6 separate regions of the Homo sapiens genome follow, and all the other regions are linked to region 6. The links are contacts of gene promoters, found by promoter capture Hi-C in blood cells and fetal thymus (Javierre and others, 2016). All regions are on one chromosome and are shown on one strand. Each heading gives the region's core, a stretch centred on a gene start or on the middle of the fragment in contact. The rest is flanking DNA. Distances are from core to core; before and after follow the strand shown.

Region 1 (3,677 bases), core at 1,033-3,532, 170 kb before region 6:
GAGAAATTACATTTCATTTTCTTCCTTTCTCTGACTCTTGCATCCTTCATTTTCCTTCTGCCTGTGTTAATCCCCCAGGACTGCCATAATCAAGGGCACCAGAGGGGTGGCTTGAACAGGAGAAATTCAGTTCCTCACAGTTCTGGAAGGCAGAAGCATGAGATCAAAGTGTTGGCAGGATGGTTTTTTCTGAGGGTCTATCCCTTGGTTTATCCATGGCCAATTCCTCCCTGTGTCTTCACATGGCCGCTGAGTGTGTGTCTGTGCCCTAATCTCCTCTTCTTATAAGGACACCAGTCAGCTTGGATTAGGTCCTGCTCATATGACCTTTTACTGTAATCACCTTTTCAAAGGCCTTATCTCCAAATACAGTTATATTCTGAGATACTGGGGTTAGGACCTCAACACATGAATTTAGGGGGAGACATAGGTCATCCCATATTAATGCCCAAACAAAATTTATTACTTCACATAGTCATGCCCCAAATGAAAATTAAACAACCCAAAATTAAATAGAATTTTTAAATTTCATCATTTCTTTATTACTATTTTATTTTTTTATTTTTTTGAGATGGAGTCTCGCTCTGTCACCCAGGCTGGAGTGCAGTGGCGTGATCTCGGCTCACTGCAAGCTCTGCCTCCTGGGTTCATGCCATTCTCCTGCCTCAGCCTCCCGAGTAGCTGGGACTACAGGCACCCGCCACCACGCTGGGCTAATTTTTTGTATTTTTAGTAGAGACGGGGTTTTGCCGTGTTAGCCAGGATGGTCTCGATGTCCTGACCTTGTGATCTGCCTGCCTCGGCCTCCCAAAGTTCTGGTATTACAGGCGTGAGCCACCGTGCCTGGCCGATTTCTTCTTTTTTTTTTTACTATTAATGTTATTTTTTATGAGAGACAGCACGCCAAGTATTGCTGTAAATATTAGGATTAATTCTACTGATGTACTTCATGATCATGTATATTTTATGAAGATTTATTAGATCAAAAATTACAAGACTTAAAGTTACCACTCTTGGATTAACTGTACATTTTTAGCACTGTTTTTATCTATTGGAATATTTTCATAGCTATAGTTAGTAAAATTCACCATAATCATTAATTAGAGCCATAATTACACTTTTATAATAAATATACATTTATACTTTAACCGATGGATAAAACATCAACCTAAATATCCAAAAGGAAATTTTTAATCAAGTGACTCCTAGGAGGGTGTCTGTTCTGACGGTGGCTATTCAGGAACAAAGAGCAAATCTGAAGAAAAGGCCTGGTTCCCACTCTGGCCACACCTGTTGCCACACTGATGGGATGTGCTGATCACAGCAAGATCACAGTCAGGATAAGTGTGGGGCCAGCAATGGCCTTTCTCAAGGCACTTTGTGCTGAGGACACGTGACAGCCTGTGTGGTGTGTGTGTGTGTGTGTGCGCGCACGCGTGTGTTTGCTTCTGTTTTTCTGTGGGTAAATACATGACCCAGTAATTTCTCAAAATAATTTTATTCTTACTACATAAGATCCACTCCATCACAGCTCTTTGTGTTCTGCTTTCTTGTTTATTGGATACCTCTTCAGGCCCTGGACGGCTCATGGAGGAGACAGGGACTCTCCCCAGGTCGAAGGCCCAAGGCCTGGATGATGGGGTGGGGCCCAGGATGGGTGCCAGGGGTCTGGAGGACATGAGTGGATGAAGGCCCTGGGCTTCAGCTTCCTCTTGGTGGAATGTGGGTGATGAGGTCCGACCATGCAGCGCTGCTGTGAGGACCGGATGAGAGGATCCCTGGGAGGTGGCCGGTGACTTGGTACCGTCACCTCAGTGACTGTTCTTCATCCTCATGGATGTTCAGAGAAGACTGGTTCATTCCCTCTGGTGGCCGTCTGTCCACCAGACAGGACCGATACATCCTCTGAAAATTTCATCACTTTAGGCAATAGCACTTTCATTCTTTTCCAGTTCATCTGATGCCATTTAAATCGACCTGGTGATTCTGGGAAGCCCGGGATTCCTGTCCCTTTGAGGAGACGCCAGGTGCCATCTGTGTGCATGCGTGGCATTTGGGCGGGAACCCAGAGCCCCGACTCTGGGCTTGTTGAACTCAGGTCCAAGGAGGGATTCACTACGTTGGTGTAAGGTGCGGTCTGTGTTTCAGATTCTTGTGCCAGATGAGGTGATGCTTTGATGTCAATACCTCGCGTTGGGGGAAGGTGGAGGATCTGGACCAGTGGTGTAGGAGGCCAGGATGGGGCGGGACCCAGACACATGAGGATTCCGGGTTTCAGAAGGACGGAGCTGAGCAAGGCCACTCGGCGCACGCGCGGTGCCTTGAGCGCCTACATCCAGATGTGCATCTTCCGTGGGGCCGTCCCGGGGCGGGGTCTGAGCTGGGAGACCTGCCTCTCTCCTGCTCTCCTAGAGTCACTTAAAACTTTTTAGTTTTCCGTTTAAATGACCAAATGAGATCATTTCATGGGGTGGTGGGGGGAGTGGAGGCAGGGAGAGTCACAAACAGAAAGCGGCCAAGACAGCTGTGGGAGAGGGAAGGGGAAGATGGGGTGAGTGGACAGCCACAGATACGACTGGCACTGACATTTAGAAGAAGATTGGGTGGAACCAGGGCTCGGTATGGCTTTGGGCAGTTCAGAAACTGAAACAGGGCTGTGGATGGGGCTGACCCGGGCGCTGTGGATGGGGAATTGCTGTGAGCAATTCACGCCTGGAGATTTGGCTGGGCATGGGAACAAGAATGAGGGAACAGGGAGTTTGGGGTGGGGAGCGAGCCCTGGTGGTGGCTGAGATGGGAGATGGGTTCGGTTGGGAATGGGGTCCTCCCCTCCTTACCCAGAACACGGCTTCGGGGAGCCATTGCTCTGGGGCGGCTGCAGCGGAGTGAGCTGGTGATCAGCCGATCTCAGCCACTCCTTGTATCCCATATTCCTAGAGGAGCTGGTGATGTCACGGCATGTCTGGCCCTCCTGCAGAGACAGGCTGGGTCGCTGGGCAGTAAAGGAGCCAGGCAGGGTATGTGTCATAGTAGATTTGATCTCAGACACTTTGAGAACCCAGGGAGAAGTGGTGCACCCTCCGCTTCTGTGTCCTACATGCCCCCTCTTTGGCAAACAGGAAGGTGCAGCATGCTCCTATAGTTACCGCCCTCCCCCACTCACACAGCCACACAGTGATTCCACAGGATCCCATTGAGCTATGACTTTCTCCACTTTCCTTGGTACATTGCTAACCCCTGACATCCTCTAATCAGGTCCTAACTTCACAACCCAAGCCCATGGCCCAGGATGCAGTAACTGCTCACTCACCTGCAGCTCATGGCATTCGGGTGGGAGAGACTGTGCGACTCAGGCACCTGACTTTCACAGGTTTGGAAGGTGGGAGTGGAGCTGGCGGGACCCCTGGGACTCACACTCCTCTGGGGGCTCTTCAACTCCTTCTCTGTTTCATTAATGGTCATTTATCCAGGAGAGGTCCACTTGGAAGCCCACATGTCCCAGGCTTTGTGTCAGACACTGGTGATGCAGTGCTGAGTAGAAAATGCAAAGTCAGTGTCTTCGTGACGTTCATGACAGTGAGAGGAGAGAGAGAGAGAGAGAGAGAGAAGGTAGGAGAATAAAACTCCTGATTTTGGTTATTGTCGTTCTTGTGTTTGGTGTCATTGTCACTGTGAAG
Region 2 (3,437 bases), core at 603-3,102, 230 kb before region 6:
ACACGGATGCGAGTGAAAGTTAGTAAATAATTTTCTTTGCCAGTTGAATAAGATGGAGAGCAGACAGTGGTTTGGGATGCAGTTTGCCTGGCTTTCAGTTGTGGTGTTTTATTTTCAGCCTTTTTCTCTGTGATGTAAGTTTTTCTTTCTCTTTTTTTTTTTTTTGAGACAGAGTTTTGTTCTTGTTGCCAAAGCTGGAGTCCAATCTCCAGTGCGATCTCAGCTCACTGCAGCCTCCGCCTCCTGGGTTCAAGTGATTCTCCTGCCTCAGCCTCCCGAGTAGCTGGGACTACAGGCGCATGCCACCACGCCTGGCTAATTTTTGTATTTTTAGTAGACACGGGGTTTCACCATGTTGGCCAGGCTAGTCTTGAACTCCTGACCTCAGGCGATCCACCCACCTCGGCCTTCCAAAGTGTGGGATTACCAGCATGAGCCACCGCACCCGGCCTTGTGATGTGAATTTTAATCTTCTAGGGTTAAGGAAATTTCAGGGAAGGCAACTGTGTTACTCTTTGGCAGGTCCAGTTTCTTGATAGATGAGGGAACTTTCTTCTTCTCCCTCCCCTCCCCTCCCCTCTCCTTCTCTCTTTCTCTCTTTCTTTCTTTCCTTCTTTCTTTCTTTCTCTCTTCTTCCTCTTCCTCTTCTTTTTTTTTGAGACAGGGTCTTGCTCTGTCACCCAGGTTGGAGCTCAGTGGTGCAATCTTGGCTCTATGCAGCCTTGATCTCCCAGGCTCAAGCGATTCTCCAACCTCAGCCTCCCAAGTAGCTGAGACTACAGGTGTGTGCCACTACACCCAACTTATTTTGTTTGTTGTGGAGACAGGGTCTCGCTGTTTCCCAGGCTGGGCTGGTCCTCAACTCCCAGGCTCAAGCGATCCTCCCACCTCAGCCTCCCAAGCAGCTGGGACCACAGGCACACTTGACCACGCCTGGTTAACTTTTAACATTTTTTGTAGAGATAGGGTCTTCCTGTGTTGCCCAGGGTCGTCTCAAACCCTGGGACTCAAATGATCCTCTGGCCTTGGCCTTCCAAAGTGCTGAGATTACAGGCATGGGCCACTGCATGTGGCCTGGTTTATTTTCTTACTTTCCAGATATGTCAGTTTTGCTTGACAGAGAGAAGCTGAGGTGGGCAGAAAAATACTCAGACTATGATTCAGAGCTGAAAGAAAATCTTGGCAAACCTCAAAGGGTGCTTCACAACAAAGATTTTCCACTTGAGGAGTCCTGCGTTTGGAAGAAATGTCCAGGTCATTGGCCAGGAAGTGCACGATCTGGTCTCCCAGGCTATGACAGATCCTGAAGGCATTACAGCTAAAGTAAAGCTAACTATGCTCTGTGGCTGACCCGTGGGTGACATGGTTTGGCTCTGTCCCCTCACCCAAATCTCATCTTGAATTGTAATCTCCAGGTGAGGAGGGAGGGACCTGGTGGGAGGGGACTGGATCAAGGGGGCAGTTTCCCCCATGCTGTTCTCATGACAGTGAGTGAGTTCTGATGAGATCTGGTTGTTTCATCAGTGTCTGGGAGTTTCCCCTCCTCACTCTCTCCTGCCACCACGTAAGTAAGATGTGCCTTGCTTCCCACTTCATCTTTCGTCACGATTGTAAGTTTCCTGAGGCCTCCCAGCCATGCAGAACTGTCAGTCAATTAAAACCTCTTTCGTTTATAAATTACCCAGCCTCAGGTAGTATCTTTATAGCGTGTGAGAACAGACTCATACAGTGGGCTTCCTTTCTTTCTTTCTTTCTTTTTTTTTTTTTTTTTTGAGATGGAGTCCTGCTCTGTCCCCCAGGCTGGAGTGCAATGGTGCGATCTCAGCTCACTGCAACCTCTGCCTCCTGGGTTCAAGCGATTCTGTTGCCTCAGCCTCCCGAGTAGCTGGGACTACAGGCGCGTGACACCACACCCGGCTGATTTTTTGTATTTTTAGTAGAGAGGGGGTTTCACCATGTTGGCCAGGATGGTTTCGATCTCCTGACCTTGTGGTCTGACCACCTTGGCCTCCCAAAGTGCTGGGATAACAGGCAGGCGTGAGCCACTGCGCCCGGCCAGTGGGCTTCCTTTCTTACAGGAAGATCTGAGCAGCGTACATCCGTGGTTGCCCATCTCCGAACAGAACCAGTTTCCATTTGTTGCCAAAGCCCTGCAGAGATAAACTCCTCACACTGCCATACAGCACTTAGAAAATCTCTTTCTGTCTCTCTCCCTGAGCCATAGTTTTCTTACGAGACTGACATCTTAAGGTGATTTTGTGATTTAATTAACTAATCCATGGAAATACAGAACTTGAATAGTATTTATTCAATAAAAGAATGCTTTCATGTTATTGCTGTTGTCCTGGTGTAATACCTAACCTTGTTTTAATATGAATAGACTCTCCCTTAGCTGAGAAAACCGGACGGACTCCATTTGGCTCCTTCATTTGCAAGACATCCAGGACTCCTTACCGACCCCCTTCCTCAAGGAGTTAACTCGTGTAAGCTGACTCTCAGCATATCAGAGAGTCCAATTAACTGATAAGGTACTGTGGCAATCAATGTCCGTAGTTCCCAGGAATTCGCTCAGGAGATAGTGCCATAAAGCCCCCGTGTTTGTGTCCGGCAGAGCCCTCACGCCTATCACCTTATGATGAATTTAAAGCCCCTGCACCTGGAATACTTTGTTCTCCTGTAACCATTTGTCTTTTTAATTTTTTATCTGTTTTACTTCTGAAAGATTGTTACAGCTAGATTCCCCCCCTCCCCTCTCTAAACCAACGTATAAAAGAAAATCAAGCCCCTTCTTCGGGGCCGAGAGAATTTCGAGCGTTAGCCGTCTCTCGGTCGCCAGCTAATAAAGGATTCCTGAATTTGTCTCCAAGTGTAGCGTTTCTCTAACTCGCTTGGGTACAAAACTGGTAAATGTTTTCTTGTTGTTTTATCTTGTTGTTGTTGTTTTTGGAGACAGGATCTCTTTCTGCCACCCAGACTGCTGAGCAGTGGCGTGATCATGGCTCACTGAAACTTGGAACTCCCAGGCCCAAGCGATCCTCGCACCTCAGCCTCCCAAGTAGCTGGGACCACATGTGCATGCCATCATTCCTGGCTAATTTATTAAAAAAAAATTTTTTTTTAAAATAGAGATTGGGTCTCCCTCTGTTGCCCAGGCTGGTCCCCAACTCCTGAGCTCAAGTGATCCTCCTGTCTCATATCTAAGAGTCTTTTAATAAATCCTGACAGAAGATGGAAAGCTGAAGACTAATACTTATAAAAACAAGAAGGCCGGGCGCGTCGGCTTATGCCTGTAATCCCAGCACTTTGGGAGGCCGAGGTGGGCAGATCACTTGAGGTCAGGAGTTCGAGACCAGCCTGGGCAACATGGCGAAACCCTGTCTCTACTAAAAATATAAAAATTAGCTGGGTGTGGTGGTGTACTCCCAGCTATTCAGGAG
Region 3 (3,351 bases), core at 773-3,272, 150 kb before region 6:
AAAAAGCAAAAGAGACCGGGTGCAGTGGCTCACACCTGTAATCCCAGAACTTTGGGAGGCCGAGGTGGGTGGATCACAAGATCAGGAGTTCGAGACTAGCCTGGTCAACATGGTGAAACCCCTGTCTCTACTAAAAATACAAAAGTTAGCCCGGCATGGTGGTGGGCACCTGTAGTCCCAGCTACTTGGGAGGCTGAGGCAGGAGAATTGCTTGAACCCAGGAGGTGGAGGTTGCAGTGAGCTGAGATCATGCCACTGCACTCCAGCCTGGGTGACAGAGCGAGACTCCATTTCAAAAAAAAAAAAAAGCAAAAGAATGAGGCATTTATGTAAAGTTATAACAAACAAAATATTTTCAGAAAAGCAATTCCACAATGTTTAATGTAATTTGAGCATCGAGCATTCTTCATAACTCTTTACAATTATTGATTCATCTTGTCTGGGTTTCATCATCATTTTACAAATGAGGAAACTGAAACACAGAGTGGCTTCATAACTCACCCACAGTCACAGTCAGTGGGGCAAGGTCAGGGTTTGACCTGGGAGCGCTAGCCACAGGGCACCTGCACCCCAGCCCCTGCTGCCCACTGTTGTGTCCCTGTGGGTGTGCTCTTCTAGGCACGTTTGGAACCCTGAGTTCTCACCAGAGAGGACAGTGAATCACTCCAAGGAGAAAGACAAGGGCTTAGAGTGGAAAAGGAGCTTTGGTTTTCACTTTATTGCTGTGCTGATGAAGTTTTAAAAGAACACCTCTCACATGTATAAAATAATGGAAAACAAGCTATGCCAAGAAGAAAAGTATGAATCAAAAATTCAATGATTACAAATAAAATAGTAAATAAGATTACAAAAGAAAATCAGATACTTTTAGTCAAACTATGTAAAAATCCCATATTTTACAAAAAGAGTAATCAAATGATGGGGGGAGAAGAGAGCTAATATTTAATGAAATTATGGTGGTCACTGTGAGACAAAGTAACAAACATGAGAAGCCGGTTTGCTCATTTCTGCTTCCCAGCATAATTTCACAAGGCCCCTGAGTCTGTGATGACCTGCGGCTCTCCAAAAACATGCTTTCTTTTGGAGAAAAAAAGGAGAGAGAAAAGGGCCCTCATGTCTCTTGCCCTCCCTGTTCCTTGCAGGTGGTGAGATTGAGAACTCAATCCAAAGTATGACATAAAGACACACCTCAGAGCTCAGAGCTTTCTTTCCCAGGATGCACCTATCCACTCTGGCAACGTTTACTTGTTCCCACCACCACCTAGTCCTGTCCACCTTCCTTCATCCTCATCCTCACTTCCTGATCTTCTCTTTAGCCCAGCTCAGGTTGAGGCCAAACTTGAATCTGACCCTCACCCCGCCCTGGGAGGGAAAATTCAGTGAGGAATAGCATTCCTTCCAGTGAGGCATACCCTGGAGTCTACATCGGCCTCCCAACCCCAAATCAGTCTCTTTTCTCCTCTCCCTCCCATTATGGCCCTGCGTCTTCCCTTTCTGGGCTGAGTTTTGTAGTATCTGTTTTCTGTGGGCTCTTGAAATTATACTAGAAGTATGATTTTTCCTTTATTAATTCTATATTTAATAACTTTTTTGTTAAATTTAGAAAGGAAGGTGAGATATCTCTAACATATCTAGAATGAAGTCTTTCTTGACATGCCTCAGAAAAACATACCTGCTTCTCCCCCACTTTGAGGTCCAGTCCATTGAGAAATGCTGGCATTGTGGGGATGGTGCATACTGAGGGGCCTGAGGGGAGATGGAGCTTGGACTGGAGGCTCAATCATTCCTGGTGTTCCTAGCACCACAGATGACTCAGCGGGACTCCCGAATAGTCAACCCTTCTTCTGAGGGCGAGGGCCAGAGTCTCAGGGATTGTCTTTTCTGAATTTTTCTTTTTGATGGTAAAAAGATCCAGGTCCGTGATTTTGCAGAATACCCTAAAGCCACATGCATTTTTGGTCTCTTCAAAGTCAACCCCCACCCCCCATGGGGGAAGGAATGATGCAAGGCTCTTTGCCCCACAGGAGAGGGTTGGGGGATTACCAGGGGGCGTGATAAATATCCTCAGCCTTGGCAAAGAGGGCTGGGAGGGTCTGTGGTAGGCTGCAGATACAGTCCTGATTATCTCTCCTTCCTCATTCACACACTTGCAAAATATGACTTTACGTCTATTAAGATTTGGTATCCATGTCCCCATTCCCTTGACTGTCTGCACCCTGTGGAATTTGTGGTCTATAGGACACTGTGGAGTGATCGATCATGTGCCAGTTTTGAGTTAAGACTTTGCTCAAGGACTCTGGTACTTCCACTTTCTCAGGAAATTAAAGCAATGTGAACACCCTCTGGCCAGCCTGTTGGAGGGTGAGAGACCACATGGAGGAGACAGAGCCCTGATGTCCCAGCTGAGGACATCCCAGAAAAGCCTATTTCCAGACAACTGAGGACAGGTGAATGAGTTCTTTGTAGATGAACCAGAATCCAGTCTATCTACCTGCTGAGCACAGACATGTGAGCAACCCCCCCATCAAGGTCAACTGAGCCTGGCCCAGATCAACAGAATCACGAGATGACCTATGGACTCAGGAGCAATCATGATGTGGTTGTTCCATGACACTGAATGTAGAGGTCGTTGATTCTGCAGCACCAGCAAACTGACACATAACACCGTGTTTAATATTGGGTTCTGGGCTTTGGGGTCCCTGCAGAGTTCCTGATTTCAGCCCCAAGGGCTCATTCACAAATTTATTACTCAGATTCTACCCTGTCAACCCAGGACGTGTTACTTACACATTTCCCAGTGTGGGCAGCAAGCCACCCAGGTGCCGAGGCAAGAGACCGAGGGCACAAGCTGTTCCAGTATAATAAAGAAAACATATAAAATAAGAATAGTTATACTAGATATAGATCGTAGATATGATTATATATGAATATTACTAATCATTAGTCTGTAGCAATTACTCTTTATTCCATTATAATAATAATCTTCTCTCTACAATTATAACTTAAGAGAAACCAGGCCATACAGAGATAGGAGCTGAACGGACACAGTGAGAAATGACCAGAAGACAAGAGTGTGAGCCTTCTATTATGCCCCGACAGGGCCACTAGAGGGCTCCTTAGTCTAGCGTTAATGCCAGTGCCCGGGAAGATGCCCGTTACCTAGCCGACTTTGGTCTAGCGGTAGCGTCAGTGCCCAGGAAAAGCACCCACTACTTAGCAGACTGGGAAAAGGAGTGTCCCTTTCCCCGGGGGAGTTAGAGAAGACTCTGCTCCACCACCTCTTGTGGAGGGCCTGACATCCGTCAGGCCTGCCCGCAGTTATCCAGAGGCCTGTCTCCCTGTGATGCTGTG
Region 4 (3,643 bases), core at 231-2,730, 210 kb before region 6:
ACCAGGCTGGTCTTGAACTCCTGACCTCAAGTGATCCACCTGCCTCAGCCTGCCAAAGTGCTGGGATTACAGGCGTGAGCCACCATGCCTGGCCTGAAGCACTTTATTCTTTTTGATGGTATTATAAATGAGGTAGTTTTCTTAATTTCCTTTTTGGCTTGTTCATTGTTAGTGTATAGAAATGCAAGAAATTTTTTTTTTTTTTAAGTTGAAGTCTCGCTCAATATCCCAGGCCGGAGTGCAGTGGCACCGTCTCAGCTCACTGCAGCCTCTGCCTTCCAGGTTCAAGTGATTCTTCTGCCTCAGCCTCCCGAGCATCTGGGATTACAGGTGCCCACCACCACACCCAGCTAATTTTTGTATTTTTAGTAAAGACTGGGTTTCACCATATTGGCCAGGCTGGTCTTGAACACCTGACCTCAGGTGATCTGCCCACCTCGGACTCCCAAAGTGCTGGGATTACAGGTGTGAGCCAACACACCTGGCCTAATTTTATATATGCAAATATATAAATATCTCTCTCTCATCAGTGGTAGAACATACATTTTTTTCAAGTCTATGTTAAACATTTATGCTAAATTGATCATATGATGGGTCATAAAGAAAGTCTCAGCTTCCAAAGGATGATTATTATTAAAAGTAGGTTTTTGAGCTGGGTGCTATGGCAGATGCCTATAATCCCAGATACTCAGGAGGCTGATGTGGGAGGATCACTTGAGCCTGAGAGTTCAAGTCTAACCTGGGCAACATAGTGATACCTCATCTCTAAAGAAATGTTCTCTGGGACTCCCAGCTTCCAGTCAAGCATGTAAGAGGCTTGGAACTCATCACTGCATCTTAACAGAAAGTGAATACTGAACAAAGAGAAAATTAACAATTCTTACATCCATTAGAGGAGTGGGATCACAGAGCAAACCACTGCCCTTAAGATTTCGAGAGACAGGCAGGTGGATACAGAGAATCAAAACTACTGCAACAGAAACCCATGACCAGAAACCCCTGTGGGAACCAGTACCAGGACAGGAAAACATGAAGTCTAATGAATGAATTCCTGGAGGCTCACGGCGGAGCAGTCTGAGAATTAAAAACTCCAGGGGGCCCAGTCTAAGGGGAGCCTCTGCATTTTTCTAAGAGTTTTACCTCCAGGAACCCTATCAGGTTCTCACAGTGAATATGGGAGAAAAATCTCCTTCATGGTCTGGCATGAAGTGGGAAGGGGGAAAGTAACCGCTGTGAAACACACCAGAGTATTCTGTTCTTCTTAACAAGCTCTGCCATTAAGAGAAAGCATTTTACCAGAATCTAAATTATTAGGGTTTTATCAGAGCCTAAATGACCTGGAGGAAGAGAGTATTATTTTTATACAGGACAGTAAACAAGTATTCTTTGCTCTAAAGGGAAACCTTACCTCTGTCTTCCAAGGCAGTACACTACACAAACATCCTTGAAAAGAGTGTGGAACAAAAGGACAGTCAATGCCTCACTGCCAGGCCAGCAAAAAAGCAAGAGATCCATGGGGAATTGTCTCTGACACTAACAAACCAATATTTTTGCAAAGTAAATAAACACATGAGCAAGGTGATAATAGTGTGCTGGAAAACGCTGCCCTGCTGCAGTGGTGACTGTGATAGTCCCGGGTGTCTGGGAAGACACGCCAGGATCACAGAGTGGGGCCTGGTTTTAGAAGAATGCAAATCTGGTCATGAGTTTCACTGCTTAAAATTATTGAGTGATGGCCAGTCGCGGTGGCTCACACCTGTAATCCCAGCACTTTGGGAGGCCGAAGGAGGGTGGATCACCTGAGGTTGGGAGTTCAAGACCAGCCTGATCAACATGGAGAAACTCCATCTCTACTAAAAATACAAAAAATAAAAATTAAAAAAAATTAGCTGGGTGTGGTGGTGCATGTCTGTAATCCCGGCTACTTGGGAGACTGACGCAGGAGAATTGCTTGAGCCTTGGAGGCAGAGGTTGTGATAAGCCGAGATGGCGCCATTGCACTCCAGCCTGGGCAACAAGAGCAAAACTCTGTCTCAAAAAAAAAAAAAAGAAAAGAAAAGAAAAGAAAAAACCAAAAAAATTATTGAACGACTCCCCACCACCGCTAGGATGAAACCCAGGCTCCCAGCTTGTCCCACAAGGCCCTTTGCTACCTGGGCCTGCCTTCCCCTCCAGCACCTTCTCTACCTACACCCACGGCGTCCCTTTTTCATCCAACCAAAGAGTCACTCCTTGAAACAGTGCAAACAGGCTTCCACAGCATGACTCACCTACCAGCACCTGCTCCCAGTAACTTAGTTCCCTTCAGGGTTTCTCTTTCTCCCAACCTTCCCACCCTGCTTCCAACTTCCCTCACTGATAGAGAATTAAGGACTCACTCTATGCATCCCATAGGACTCACGCTTACCTCTCTCATTGTCTTGTCTTGCCATTGGTCACTCTCCTGGGTATTTGCCCAACCCAAATTCACCCTAAATTATTAGAGATATGCATGCAAAGCATAAAACTTTCAGCACATGGTTTTTGAAAATTAAAAATAAAAATCTCCTTCCCCTCCTTTTACCTCCCCCCTCATTTGCTCGTTTGCACTCCTCAGAGACCAATGCTGTTAGCAGTTTCTGCCTTCGGTACCTTTGAAGTTTCCTATCATACTCTCATAATTCTCTCTCGTGACTTTAGGGACCCAGGTTTACCATTACTAGTTGTGGCATTTCAAAACGTACTTAACCTCTCTGAGCTACAGTTTCCTCTTTAAGCACAATGAAATGAGGACGTATAAGCATCCAGTAAAGTCAACGTGTTTGTAAATATCATGTAAACTGGGAACCCCACACATATGTTGGGTCATAAAGAAAGTCTCAGCTTGCAGAGGATGAACATTATTAAAAGTAGGTTTTTGAGCCGGTGCTATGGCACATGCTTATAATCCCAGATACTCAGGAGGCTGATGTGGGAGGATCACTTGAGCCCAAGAGTTCAAGTCTAACCTGGGCAACATAGTGAGACCTCATCTCTAAAGAAATGTTCTCTGGGACTTCCAGTTTCCAGTCAAGCATGTAAGAAACTTGGAACTCATCACTCCATCTTAACAGAAAGTGAATACTGAACAAAGAAACAATTAACACTTCTTCTTATATCCATTAGAGGAGTGGGGTCACAGGGCAAACCACTGCCCTAAGATTTGTTGACACAGGCAGGTGGATACAGAGAATCAAAACTACTGCAACAGAAACCCATGACCAGAAACCCCTGTGGGAACCAGTACCAGGATAGGAAAACATGAAGTCTAACGAATGAATTCCTGGAGGCTCAGGGTGGAGCAATCTGAGAATTAAAAATTCCAGGGGGCCCAGTCTAAGGGGAGCCTCTGCACTTTTCTAAGAGTTTTACCTCCAGGAACCCTATGAGGTTCTCACAGTGAATACCGGAGAAAATGTCCTTCATGCCCTGAGTTTTGAGCTGTCTGAGAACATGACAGCCCTGGAACAGGTCCAGTAGCATCCTACTAATGTGTCAATGCTTTTATTTTGTTATGCTTTCTGTGGCTTTTCATGCCCCACCCTTTTTAAGAAACCACTCCTTCTGCACACCTCCCTAAATATGGGTAAGTTCATACCCTATAATAATCTCCTGTGTAAAGTCA
Region 5 (3,583 bases), core at 589-3,088, 190 kb before region 6:
ATAAAACAAGCATAAGAAGACTCAGAAAGGTAGGGTAAGAAGGCAGACGAAGGGAGGACCTTGGGACCACAGAAATGGCAGAGCAGGGAGTTTCCCTGAGTTTTCTTTTTTGCCTCATATATCCTAGATGCAACTCATGAGAAGCTGGAGGACCTGGAGAAGCTGGCAACTCAAAAAGGCCAAAGGGTGCAGACAATAAAAGCCCCAGACAAGCGTATAGAACCACACGCCGTCTTTTTACTTGCCGTAAGTGTCATATTTTTCTTCTTTAATGTCACATAAGAGCAATATTTCCTTCAGGTATCTAATCACAAGAACCACTGCAAATTCTAGATCCATGAGATCAGTCTTTCTGTGGAGAATTCATGTAGAGATCCCTGATCACACACTTGTCAAATAGAAAGTTTCCCAGAAAATCAGATACCATGTGTTATGAAAGAAAAGAAAGTATCTAGTCACTAAACACCTAGTTTAGAATAAAACGCCAAACACCCAGTTTAGAATAATTTCCCAAAAAGTGTTTTCCTAAAGTAACTGAAATTTTGAAAATTGTATGAGGAGAAAGTACATTTGATTTCTTCCTTTCTCTGACTCTTGCATCCTTCATTTTCCTTCTGCCTGTGTTAATCCCCCAGGACTGCCATAATCAAGGGCACCAGAGGGGTGGCTTGAACAGGAGAAATTCAGTTCCTCACAGTTCTGGAAGCCAGAAGTATGAGATCAAGGTGTTGGCAGGATGGTTTCTTCTGAGGGTCTATCTCTTGGCTTATCCATGGCCAACTCCTCCCTGTGTCTTCACATGGCCTCTGTGTGTGTGTCTGTGCCCTAATATCCTCTTCTTATAGGGACACCAGTCAGCTTGGATTAGGTCCTGCTCATATGACCTCATTTTACCGTAATCGCCTTTTCAAAGACCTTATCTCCAAATACAGTTATATTCAGAGATACTGGGGTTAGGACTTCAACACATGAATTTTGCGGGAGACATAGGTCATCCCATATTAATGCCCAAACAAAATTTATTACTTCACATAGTCATGCCCCAAATGAAAATTAAACAACCCAAAATTAAATAGAATTTTTAAATTTCATCATTTCTTTATTATTATTATTATTATTTTTTGAGATGGAGTCTCACTCTGTTGCCCAGGCTGGAGGACAGTGGCATGATCTCAGCTCACTACCAGCGCCACCTCCTGGGTTCATGCCATTCTCCTGCCTCAGCTCCTGAGTAGCTGGGACTACAGGCGCCCGCCACCACACCCGGCTCCTTTTTTGTATTTTTAGTAGAGACGGGGTTTCACCATGTTAGCCAGAATGGTCTTGATCTCCTGACCTCGTGATCTGCCTGCCTCAGCCTCCCAAAGTACTGGGATTACAGGCATGAGCCACCATGCCCAGCCGATTTCTTTGTTTCTTTTTTTTTTTTTTACTATTAATGTTATTTTTTATGAGAGAGAGCACGCCAAGTATTGCTATAAATATTAGGATTAATTCTATTGATGTGCTTCATGATCATGTATATTTTATGAAGATTTATTAGATCAAAAATTACAAGATTTATCTTAAAGTAATCACTCTTATATTAACTGTATATTTTAGCACTGTTTTTATCTATTGGAATATTTTCATAGCTATAGTTATTAAAATTCACCATAATCATTAATTAGAGCCATAATTACACTTTTATAATAAATATACATTTATACTTTAACCGATGGATAAAACATCAACCTAAATATCCAAAAGGAAATTTTTAATCAAGTGACTTCTAGGAGGGTGTCTGTTCTGACGGTGGCTATTCAGGAACAAAGAGCAAATCTGAAGAAAAGGCCTGGTTCCCACTCTGGCCACACCTGTTGCCACACTGATGGGATGTGCTGATCACAGCAAGATCACAGTCAGGATAAGTGTGGGGCCAGCAATGGCCTTGCTCAAGGCACTTTGTGCTTAGGACACGTGACAGCCTGTGTGGTGTGTGTGTGTGTGTGTGTGCGTGTGTGTGTGTGTGTGTTTGCTTCTGTTTTTCTGTGGGTAAATACATGACCCAGAAATTTCTCAAAATAAGTTTATTCTTACTACATAAGATCCACTCCATCACAGCTCTTTGTGTTCTGCTTTCTTGTTTATTGGATACCTCTTCAGGCCCAGGGCGGCTCATGGAGGAGACAGGGACTCTCCCCAGGTCGAAGGCCCAAGGCCTGGATGATGGGGTGGGGCCCAGGATGGGTGCCAGGGGTCTGGAGGACATGAGTGGATGAAGGCCCCGGGCTTCAGCTTCCTCTTGGTGGAATGTGGGTGATGAGGTCCGACCATGCAGCGCTGCTGTGAGGACCGGATGAGAGGATCCCTGGGAGGTGGCCGGTGACTTGGTACCGTCACCTCAGTGACTGTTCTTCGTCCTCATGGATGTTCAGAGAAGACTTGCCCACTCTCTCCACCAGATACAACCAATAAAACCTCTGAAAATTTCAGCCGAACTTTATAGCACTTTCATTCTTTTCCAATTTATTTGACGCTATTTAAATCAGACCTAGTGATTCTGGGATGCCTGAGATTCCTGTCCCTTAGAAGGGACGTCAGGTGCCTTCTGTGCGCACACGTGGCATTTGGGCGGGAACCCAGAGCCCCGACTCTGGGCTTGTTGGACTGAGATCCAAGGAGGGATTCACTACATTGGTGTAAGGTGCGGTCTGTGTTTCAGATTCTTGTGCCAGATGAGGTGATGCTTTGATGTCAATACCTCGTGTTGGGGGAAGGTTGGGGATCTGGACCAGTGGTCTAGGGGGCCTGTATGGGGCAGGACCCAGACACCTGAGGATTCCAGGTTTAAGAAGGGCGGGGCTGAGCGAGGCCTCTCGGCGCGTGTAGGTGCCTTGGGCACCTACATCCTGCTGTGCGGCTTCAGTGGGGGCGTCCAGGGCGGGGTCTGAGCTGGGAGACCCGCCTCTCTCCTGCTCTCACGGAGTCACTTAAAACTTTTTAGTTTTCCACTTAAATGACCAAATGAGATCATTTCATGGGGTGGTGGGGGGAGTGCAGGCAAGGAGAGTCACATGTGGACAGGGTGAAGGTTTAGGACGCTCACTGTGGAGGATGAGGAAGCAGCCACCCCGTGGGTGGGGTGGGTCTGTCGCTTTCTAGGCGCCAGCACAGCTCTCACGCCCTGCAGAATCCTAGCATGGGGAGGCAGAGCTCACCCAGCATTGGGTGTGCTCCCACTGATAGGCCCTGAGCTAGGGTTAGGCCTGTGAGACAGGGCATTTGCCCTGTGATGCCAGATTGCTGCCATGGTGATGTGCCGGGTCCAGAGTTCCCGCACGTGCAGACACCTGGCCACCGGGCCCGTCTGGGGCCACTGAGGCGAGGCTGCCAACTGTGGGGCGATGATGGAACCCTTTGAGTCAGAATCTGCCCAGGGAAGCCATCGGGCAGTCCGGGAGCCTGGGTTGGCCTCGGATGACTGAGGCCCAGGGACGCAGGCCCTGTGCAGACCCCCTGGCCCTGAGAAACAGGACCCAGAAAGGTGGTGGCTTCTTTGACTTTGGGGAATCCAGGTTGGTGGAGACCCTAGGGCTGAACG
Region 6 (3,589 bases), core at 387-2,886:
AAGTGTCTGAATCTAAAAAGAGCTTGTTTTTGTCACTAACAGAATCTGTCAGACTCACCTCTTGCTTGACAGTGGGTTCCGTGGGATTTTCTACATAGATAGTTCAATTATACAGAGATCAATTCTAGTAATCAGCTTTGGGATTTCCCTCCTTAGTCACTTGTACTCTTCATTGCAGCTTTCCCTTTCAAGTGGTCATAAATTTCTTGGTTGCTGGCTCGGAGTTATAATGCGGTATTCACACTACTTAACTTGATAAACAGGAATGTAGTTCTTATAGGTCTGTTTCCGCAGCAGCTGTTCTGTGTAGGTGAGAGAATGTGTCTTTACAGGTGGGATTTCTGTTTGGATGTGTGGGAAAGGAGAAGGCATATTGATAAGCAGACAAACAGACATATCTATGCAAATACGCAACTGCAGAAATAGGCGAGGAGAGCTAGTTTATTGCATGAAATCAATACCGAAGACTTGGACATCCAGTCAAGAAAGGAGAGGCCAGGCTGGAGTGCAAATAAGCACAACAACAACAAAATCAATGCACTTTGGGAGGCTGGGGCAGGTGGATTGCTTGAGCTCAGGATTCCAAGACCAGAACATTGTAGGACCCTAACTCTATGAAAAATACAAAAAAATTAGCCAGGCCAGGAGGTGCCTGCCTGTAGTCCCAGCTACTCAAGAGGCTGAGGTGGGAGGATGGCTTCAACTTGGGGGGCAAAGGTTACAGTGAGCAAAGATAGCACCACTGCCCTCCAGCCTGGGAGACAGAGAGATACGGTGTCTCAAAAAAAAAAAAAAAAAAAGAGAGAGAGGAGGGAGGAGGAAGAGACTCTAGAGAGTCTATACTAACAATGCACTTTTACAAAGCTCTAATACCTGTGCCTTATCCTTCTTTCACCCTCCCACCCTTCTCACTGTGACACAGGGAAGAAACCAGTGGAAAATGGAGGGGCATGCTCTAAAAATACGCCACATGTAATCCCATCACACAGTGAGACACACAGGAGCATTTTCTTGGACAAGGCACTCCACAAACCAAAAAAAAAAAAAAGGTGCTGCTTTCCTATCTGGAATCCCAGAGATCCATCCTACCACCGCCTATTTTTGTTGTTGTTGTTCTCCCTGGCACAGTTTTGCAGCCCCTGCTGTTCTTCTAGATTATGCTGCAACTTCACAAATTCTCCTACGTGACTCTGAAAAATTATAGACAGTGCAGGTCTGCAGGTGAACTGAGACGGGGAGTAGAGGGACTCCTTGAAACTTCAGGGTGGAGGAATATGGGGAGCCTAGAGACAGCCGGTGTTTGGTGAGTAATTTGATCTTAGATAAGCAAGAGTTAAGGAATATCTTCCAAGTGGTTTTCCCTTGGGCGGTGTTCAAAGAAAGACACTCAGCAGAGTCAAAGCTTAGATAGGTTCCTGGGTAGCCTTTACCCTGAGGATCTGAAGGGTCTGAGGAGGCAGCAACCACTTGGAACAGGTCCAGAAGCATCTCATTAAGCTTTTGATGAATTATTTATGTTCCCTGCAGCTCTTTTTGCCTAACTCTTCCCAAGAAACCACTCCTTCTGCACACCTCCCTAAATGGCGGTAAGTTCATATCCTATATAAGCCCCTATGTAAAGTCACTGACCCATTTCCACTGCTGCTCCCTCGTCCGCTGCTCTGAAGCCTAACCCATGGTGCCCAGAATTTCTGGTAAGGAGACCCCAGCCCTAGGCTAAGCTAATCCCTAATGATATCACATCCCTAATTATTTCTGAACTTCAAAGTTAATTCTCTCTTCCCTATTTAATTATTGGTGTCCCACCTCATAATCACTGCTATGTCATCTGTGACTGCATTGTAATCTGTCTCCTGAACTGCAAATTCCAGAAGCTTAACTTTTCCCAGAGCCCTCCCTGCCTTTCCTCACCTGCCAAGCCCAGTCCCCAGGACCTGCACCCACAGCCAGTCCCAAAATCCACTCTGAGCTGTTAACAGCAACCAGAGAAGCTCAGAGACATCATCCTGTGCCCCGTGGTCAAGACCTAGTGACCTCAGAATCATTCTCGCTCTCCTTCTGCTTCTCAGCTGCCATCTTCATTTTTGAACTTTTGGGTTCAAACTCAGAAGGAGTCACAGGTGAGAACAGATGCAGTGAGGGAGGAGAGAACAGCATTAAGGTTGGTGGGGAGGTGGTCCTAGGCTGGTCCTTGCAGCCCATCCAGCCCCGACTCTTCCAGATCTTAGACTGTGGCTATGCCAGCCAGCGCCCAGGTGCGGGGAGTGGACCTACAACCCCTTGGAGCAGTGCTGTGATGACGGTGTCATCCTAGACTTGAACCAGACCCGGCTCTGCGGCTCCAGCTGCACCTTCTGGCCCTGCTTCCAGCACTGCTGCCTGGAGTCTTTGGGCTCTCAGAACCAGACAGTTGTGAGGTTCAAGGTCCCAGGCATGAAGCCAGATTGCAAGTCCTCCCCTATCACCAGGATCTGTGCCCAGGTAAGGATCTGACTCCAGTCCAGGCTGTGGGAGGGGGGAGTAGGGAATGGAGCTTGGTTGTCCATGTCCCACCCAGATGTGCAGTCTCTGCTGGGTTCCATACCTTCCCATCTCTCAGTAACCATGCAACTCTGTCTTTCTCCATGTCTCTGTTCCTTCCCCGCCACTGCTGCTACCACCCTCCCTCTTATTCCCCTCTCCCACTTCTCTCCTTCTGCAGGAATACCACCCAAAAAGCCCTGTGTCAAGATCTGACCTCATCTAGACTGTTCTGGGGTAGCAGAGTCACAGATCACTCTAGAATCTAATACTTGGTAATTATACTGCATTGATTTTGTTGTTGTTGTGACAGAGTTTCACTCTGTCCCCCAGGCTGGAGTGCAAATAAGCAACTTCAGCAAAGTCTCAGGATACAAAATCAATGTACAAAAATCACAAGCATTCTTATACACCAACAACAGACAAACAGAGAGCCAAATCATGAGTGAACTCCCATTCACAATTGCTTCACAGAGAATAAAATACCTAGGAATCCAACTTACAAGGGATGTGAAGGACCTCTTCAAGGAGAACTACAAACCACTGCTCAAGGAAATAAAAGAGGATACAAACAAATGGAAGAACATTCCATGCTCATGGGTAGGAAGAATCAATATCGTGAAAATGGCCATACTGCCCAAGGTAATTTACAGATTCAATGCCATCCCCATCAAGCTACCAATGACTTTCTTCACAGAATTGGAAAAAACTACTTTAAAGTTCATATGGAACCAAAAAAGAGCCCTCATCGCCAAGTCAATCCTAAGCCAAAAGAACAAAGCTGGAGGCATCACACTACCTGACTTCAAACTATACTATAAGGCTACAGTAACCAAAACAGCATGGTACTGGTACCAAAACAGAGATATAGATCAATGGAACAGAACAGAGCCCTCAGAAATAACGCCGCATATCTACAACTATCTGATCTTTGACAAACCTGAGAAAAACAAGCAATGGGGAAAGGATTCCCTATTTAATAAATGGTGCTGGGAAAACTGGCTAGCCATATGTAGAAAGCTGAAACTGGATCCCTTCCTTACACCTTATACAAAAATCAATTCAAGAT

The links. Contacts are between HindIII fragments. The CHiCAGO score rates a contact against its expected background, and 5 or more counts as called.
Region 1: a fragment that was not itself captured here is called in contact with the fragment with the promoter of IGFL4 in region 6 in 3 of 17 cell types (M1 macrophages, M0 macrophages and M2 macrophages); the score reaches 7.3 in M1 macrophages.
Region 2: a contact is called between a fragment that was not itself captured here and the fragment with the promoter of IGFL4 in region 6, in 9 of 17 cell types (M0 macrophages, M1 macrophages, megakaryocytes and 6 more). The highest score is 10.6, in M0 macrophages.
Region 3: a fragment that was not itself captured here is called in contact with the fragment with the promoter of IGFL4 in region 6 in 5 of 17 cell types (M0 macrophages, megakaryocytes, endothelial precursors and 2 more); the score reaches 8.4 in M0 macrophages.
Region 4: a contact is called between a fragment that was not itself captured here and the fragment with the promoter of IGFL4 in region 6, in 9 of 17 cell types (M0 macrophages, M2 macrophages, M1 macrophages and 6 more). The highest score is 10.9, in M0 macrophages.
Region 5: a contact is called between a fragment that was not itself captured here and the fragment with the promoter of IGFL4 in region 6, in 6 of 17 cell types (M1 macrophages, M2 macrophages, megakaryocytes and 3 more). The highest score is 9.4, in M1 macrophages.

What each region holds. Positions count from the first base shown.
Region 1 is chr19:46,212,644-46,216,320 of GRCh38, reverse strand. It overlaps LOC93429 (a long non-coding RNA gene), which reads right to left. Exons shown (of 6, transcript NR_027003.1): 4 at 3,311-3,531; 5 at 2,838-2,992; 6 at 1,483-2,524. It also overlaps a transcript of IGFL2 not described here. Among named protein-coding and RNA genes, the nearest start is that of IGFL2-AS1, 11 kb to the right of the region's middle. The HindIII fragment of the contact is 6,207 bases long and covers 1-3,677 here.
Region 2 is chr19:46,269,768-46,273,204 of GRCh38, reverse strand. No RefSeq gene overlaps it. Among named protein-coding and RNA genes, the nearest start is that of HIF3A, 26 kb to the left of the region's middle. RefSeq lists an enhancer at 1,292-2,005. The HindIII fragment of the contact is 6,624 bases long and covers 1-3,437 here.
Region 3 is chr19:46,189,381-46,192,731 of GRCh38, reverse strand. It overlaps IGFL2-AS1 (IGFL2 antisense RNA 1), which reads left to right. Exons shown (of 3, transcript NR_135234.1): 3 at 2,318-3,351. It also overlaps a transcript of IGFL2 not described here. Among named protein-coding and RNA genes, the nearest start is that of IGFL2-AS1, 12 kb to the left of the region's middle. RefSeq lists an enhancer at 2,406-2,700. The HindIII fragment of the contact is 7,561 bases long and covers 1-3,351 here.
Region 4 is chr19:46,250,215-46,253,857 of GRCh38, reverse strand. No RefSeq gene overlaps it. Among named protein-coding and RNA genes, the nearest start is that of IGFL1, 22 kb to the right of the region's middle. The HindIII fragment of the contact is 4,818 bases long and covers 1-3,643 here.
Region 5 is chr19:46,232,449-46,236,031 of GRCh38, reverse strand. It overlaps LOC124904728 (a long non-coding RNA gene), which reads left to right. Exons shown (of 2, transcript XR_007067273.1): 2 at 128-225. Among named protein-coding and RNA genes, the nearest start is that of IGFL1, 4.5 kb to the right of the region's middle. The HindIII fragment of the contact is 4,669 bases long and covers 1-3,583 here.
Region 6 is chr19:46,039,049-46,042,637 of GRCh38, reverse strand. It overlaps IGFL4 (IGF like family member 4), which reads left to right and starts at 1,636. Exons shown (of 4, transcript NM_001002923.3): 1 at 1,636-1,694; 2 at 2,070-2,120; 3 at 2,222-2,481; 4 at 2,702-3,456. The coding sequence starts at 1,676. The coding sequence ends at 2,746. The HindIII fragment of the contact is 377 bases long and covers 1,500-1,876 here.